2 separate regions of the Homo sapiens genome follow, and region 2 is linked to region 1. The links are contacts of gene promoters, found by promoter capture Hi-C in blood cells and fetal thymus (Javierre and others, 2016). All regions are on one chromosome and are shown on one strand. Each heading gives the region's core, a stretch centred on a gene start or on the middle of the fragment in contact. The rest is flanking DNA. Distances are from core to core; before and after follow the strand shown.

The links. Contacts are between HindIII fragments. The CHiCAGO score rates a contact against its expected background, and 5 or more counts as called.
Region 2: a contact is called between a fragment that was not itself captured here and the fragment with the promoter of GBP7 in region 1, in 1 of 17 cell types (activated CD4 T cells). The highest score is 8.3, in activated CD4 T cells.

The regions. Positions count from the first base shown.
Region 1 is chr1:89,174,578-89,177,350 of GRCh38, reverse strand. GBP7 (guanylate binding protein 7) reads left to right here and starts at 1,348. Exons shown (of 11, transcript NM_207398.3): 1 at 1,348-1,430. The region is part of intron 3 of LOC105378842 (a long non-coding RNA gene); the gene reads right to left. The HindIII fragment of the contact is 1,918 bases long and covers 977-2,773 here.
Region 2 is chr1:89,136,290-89,139,062 of GRCh38, reverse strand. The region is part of intron 9 of GBP7 (guanylate binding protein 7); the gene reads left to right. The region is part of intron 1 of LOC105378842 (a long non-coding RNA gene); the gene reads right to left. Among named protein-coding and RNA genes, the nearest start is that of GBP2, 12 kb to the right of the region's middle. The HindIII fragment of the contact is 8,826 bases long and covers 1-2,773 here.

The DNA of each region.
Region 1 (2,773 bases), core at 99-2,598:
ACCATTGCACTCCAGCCTGGGCAACAAGAGAGAAACTCTGTCTCAAAAAAAAAAAACACAAGTTGGGAAAGTGGGATCTTTTTTTCTTATAAATTTATGTACCCTTAAATTATACATGATTCACAAAGATTCAATTTTGCCTGGGGCTATTTTTTGTTTGCATGATATAAACAATAGATTTTATTACTTAGAAGCAGGTGATTTCCTAGCAATAGTTCTGTTTTGAAATAACCCTGCCTTACTTTCACTTTAAATCTCATCAATATTCACACACACACAGAGAAGTCTTACTCTCTGCTCTCCATTTCTCTCTCTCTCTTCCCCGCTTCCCACCTTCCTCTCTTTTAGAGACAATGTGCAGTAGAGAATCAATGTGGTTTTAACCAAATGGATTTTCAAGTTTGAATCTCGCTCAATTACTTGCTACCTTGGTGTGTAGCTCAATGGCTTTAGTTAGACATATTAATTACCCGTTTTCTGATTATTTTTCCCCCTTGGACAATGGGGATAATAAACAACCTTTATCTTGAGGTATTTTGATATTTAAAATGGTATGTGTAAAGAATATGGCCTAGAATGGAACTGATAAGGAGAAAACATTGTTATTGTACACTCAGCAAACACAGAGGTATTTTAATGAAGTGACTGACAGCAAGACTTCTTGGGCCCAAATCTTATTTAGTAGCTCTGTAATTGTAATAAATTATTAAATCCCTCTTTTAACATTGTGGTAAAAGTATTTGTGATAAGAATACAATGGGATAATCTATGTAAACAAAACGGGTACTATCTTCATTATTATTTATTAAATGTTAAGTGCCAAGACCTGAGTTAGGTGCTAATAATTCAAACATGTATAAGACGTGGACATTCCTTCAGGGCATTTAGAGTCCTCATTATTAAACACAAATAATGAGTTCCATTTTAAGAGTCTAATATTCAAGCCAATTGAACCTAAATAATATTATATTAAGCTTTCTTATTCCTGTACTTCTCAATGTGGCCCACAAACATGAGATGAATGTCATTATTTTAAACGATTCATTGAAGTTTTTTTAATAATCGCAAGCTGTCTCTAAGATCTCTTCCAATAATAAAATTGGAAGATTCTGTTTGAGAAATTATGTCAAATCCTCTCACTAGCACAGCTGTCAGCAATTTCTTTTATTGTTGCTAAATCATGGACTGTCATATTACTCTATTTATTTGCAGAGGTTGCATTGTTTTTTACATGTATAAATACAGGTCTCTAGAAAGTCTGGAAAGCCCCATGACATTGGAGAGGTAAGGTAAAAGTCCAAAGTTCCAGCAAGAAAAAAAGTGGGAGAAATCAGTGCAGCCAAATTCAGAACTAAAGAGAAGAGAATAAAGACTCATAACTTTCTCATTGAAGCTGCCTTCTTACCAAGTCCAGAGGATCTCTACTCTGGGTAAGACTATGACTTATAAGGATTTCATGATTTATAAGGATCCATTAGTTTTCTCTAAGTTGACCATCCCCAAGATAGGCTGCAGCTGAGCCAGCTACAGGATACAAGTCCAGATGAAATCCTGGCCTCTTAGGTGGCTGTGTGTACCTTAGTGTGCTCTAATTCCTGCTGTGTCAGATTAGGCTTCAGCAGAGGTGGAACAGATATTCAGAGAAGCCAGTGTTCTAAGATTGTTATTTCTTTTCTGACACCATCTTAAATTACTGTTATCTTTAAATATCTGCCTAATAGGCTCTGTCACTTTCTTTATTGGGCCCAACATTTATAGCTCTAGGTAAATGAAGGTAGGCAACTTGGGATCTGCAAAAAGAGGCAACACATTATTATAATCCAGGACCTTATAACATCTTTGTGCCACCACCTTTCTGAGCCGGTGACTGATTGATTCCTATGTTATGGTAGCATAGTATATGCTACAGAATTGGACAGACGCATACTCTGTTTTCACTCATCTTCCATAGATACCCAATCTTTTTAGTTTCTGGTTTGCCCTTCTTGCTTGCCAGCAGATCCTGTAGGCCATTGCTATAAGAGGAAATGGGTCATGATCACAGAAAAATAAACGGCTTTTTTTCCATCTTCTGCTGAAGTGATGGGAAGCCAGATAATTTAATATAAACCTCCAGAGGAACAAGTCAGAAGTAACCAACTCTATAGTGGAAACAAACCACTCTTTATTATAGGATAAAAAAGAAAACTGCAGTATCTATCATCTATATTTGCTTGTATCTTAAAGAGATTATATATTTTGTATCATGATCACATAAGTTACAAGGATTGAGACATTCAACTTAAAAACACAAAATTAAAGCATCACTACAAGAAGGCTTTTCACTCCTTTTAACTTTACAAAATTATCAAAATATTTAATTTATCAAGCCCTGGATAAAGATAGCATGATTACAATTGTGCATATGCTACTCTCTATACAGCAGAGATCAGACAAAAAACAAGCCATGGTTTTTCAAAGAATGTTTCATGCTGTGACTTCATTACATGAAATAATTAAAAACAATATGCAGACTGATATACATGGAGGTAATAAAGAATCAATCTTCAAATGCAGAGAATTCAAAATCTGTTAACATAATCAAGTCAAAAATCAACAGAGTAAGTGTCAGGTGCGAGCTATCAGGCTTGCATGAATAACGTGTGAATGCTGATGCACAGTGAGAGGAGGAAGCCATTGGGTAACCTGAGTCCCACAGTCTGACCAGACCCTGCCCACAGAGGGGCTTGCAAGAAATCAGGACCAAGAATGGGTTAGAATGGTATCTATGTTT
Region 2 (2,773 bases), core at 161-2,660, 38 kb after region 1:
TGCTGGCCATGTGTATGTCTTCTTGGATAAATGTCTGTTAATGTCCATTGCCCATTTTTTAATGGGGTTGTTTGCTTTGTTCTTAATTTCTTTAACTTCCTTATAGATTCTGGATATTAGACTTTTTTCAGATGCATAGTTTGCAGATATTTTCTCCCATTCTGTAGGTTGTCTGTTTACTCTGTTTATAGTTTCCTTTGTTGTGCATGAACTCTTTAGTTGAATTAGGTCCCTCTTGTTAACTTTTTGTTCGGTTGCAGTGGCTTTTGAAGTTTTCATCAGGAAATCTTTGCCAGTGCCTATGTCCAGAATGGTATTTCCTAGGTTTTCTTTTGGTGGTTTTATAGTTTTAAATTTTACATTTACATCTTTAACTCATCTTGAGTTGATTTTTGTATATAGTGAGAAGAAGGGGTCCAGTTTCAATCTTCTGCATATAGCTAGCCAGTTAACCCAGCACCATTTATTGAATAATGCATTCTTTCTCCATTGCTTTTTTTGTTAGCTTTACCAAAGATCAGATAGTTGTAGGTGTGTGGTATTATTTCTGCTTTCTTTAAACTTTTCCATTTGTTCATGTGTCTGTTTTGTTTTGTTTTGTTTTTTGACCAGCACCATGCTATTTTGGTTATTGTAGTCTTGTAATATAGTTTAAACTCAAGTCATGTGATGTCTCTGGCTTTGTTCTTTTTGCTTAGGAGTGCCTTGGCTACTCGGGGTTTTTTTGTTGTTGTTGTTCCATGTGGATGTTAGAATAGTTTTTACTAATTCTATTTTTAAAAAGTCATCGATAATTTGATAGGAATAGCATTGAATATGTAAATCAATTTGGGCAGTATGGCTATTTTAACAACATTGATTCTTCCTATCCATATGCATGAAATAATTTTCCATTTGTTTGTGCAGTCTCAGATTTCTTTCAGCAGTGTTTTATAATTCTCATTGTAGAGATGCTTCACCTCCCTGATTGGCTGTAAACCTAGGTATTTTATTCTTGGTTATTCACAATAGCTATTGTGAATAGGATTGTGTTCTCGGTTTGACTTTCAGCTTGGACATTATTGGTGTGTAGAAATGCTACTTATTTTTGTACATTTACTTTTTTATCCTGAAACTTTGCTGATGTTTATCAGATGGATGAGACTTTGGGCAGAAATTATGGAGTTTTCTAACTACAGAATTCTATTGTCTATGAAGAGAGAGAGTTTGACTTCCTCTCTTCCTATTGGATAACTTTTTTTTTCCCCTTTGCCTGATTTCTCTGGCTAGGACTTCCAGTACTATGTTGAATAAGAGTTGTTGAGAGTGGGCATCCTTGTCTGTTTTTGGTTCTCAAGTGAAATGTTTCCAGCTTTTTCACATTCAGTATGATGTTGGCTGTGGGTTTTTCATAGATGGCTTTTATTATTTTGAGGTATGTTCCTTTGAGGCCCAGTTTGTTGAGATATTTTAACATGAAATATTGAATTTTATCAAAAGCCTTTTCTGTGCCCATTGAGAAGATCATCTGGTTTTTGTTCTGAGTCCCGTTTGTGTGAGGAATCAATTTATTATTAGCATATGCTGAATCAACCTTGCATTCCAGGAATAAAGCCTAATTGACAGTGGTGGGTTCGCTTTTTAATGTGCTGCTGGATTTGGTTTGCTAGTATTTTGTTGAAGATTTTTTCATCCATGTTCATCAGGAATATTGTCCTGCATTTTTCTTTTTTTGTTGTGTCTCTGCCAGGTTTTTAAAATCAGAATGATGCTGGCCTCATAGAATGTATTAGGAAAGATTCCCTGCTCCCCATTTTTTTTGGAATAGTTTAGTAGAATTGGTACCAGCTCTTCTTTCTATGTATGGCAGAACTGACTATGACTCTGTCTGGTCTAGGGCTTTTTCTGCTTGGTAGGCTTTTTAATGCTGACCCAATTTTGGAACTTGTTATTAGTCTGTTCCAGGTTTCAATTTCTTCCTGGTTCACTTTTGGTAGGTTGTATGTTTCCAGGAATTTATCCATTTCTTCTAGGTTTCTTAGTTAGTGTGCATAGTGGTGTTCATAATAGTCTCTCAGGATTTTTTGTATTTCTGTGGAGTTGATAGCAATGTCCCTTTTGCCATTTTTTTATTGTGTTTATTTGGATCTTCTCTTTTTTTGTTCTTTTTTAGTCTAACTAGAAGTATATCCATCTTATGTATTTTTCCAGAGAACCATTGGTTTCATTGATCTTTTGTATGGTTTTTCTTGTCTCCACTTTATTCACTTCAAGTCTGATTTTGGTTATTTCTTGTCTCAGCTAGCTTTGTGCTTGGTTCACTTTTGTTTTTCTAGTTCCTCAAGGTGTAATGTTAGATTGTTAATTTGAGATATTTCTAACTTTCTACTGTAGTCGTTTAGTGCTATTAACATTCCTCTTAACACTGCTCTAGTTGTGTCTCAAAGATTCTGGTAGGTTGTATCTTTGTTTTCATTAATTTCAAATAATTTATTTCTGCCTTAAATTCACTGTTTACCCCAAAATCATTCAGAAGCAGATTAATTAATTTTCATGTAATTGTATAGCTTTGAGAGATATTCTTTGTATTGATTTCTATTTTTACAGCATTGTGGTCTGACAGCATTGGTATGATTTGGGTTTTTTTTTTATTTGTTGAGAATTGCTTTATGGCAGAGCAAGGAGTCAATTTTAGAGTATGTGCCATGTGCAGATGAGATGAATGTATATTCTGTTATTGTTGGGTGGAGTGTTCTGTAGATGTCTGTTAGGTCCATCTGGTCAAATGTCAAGT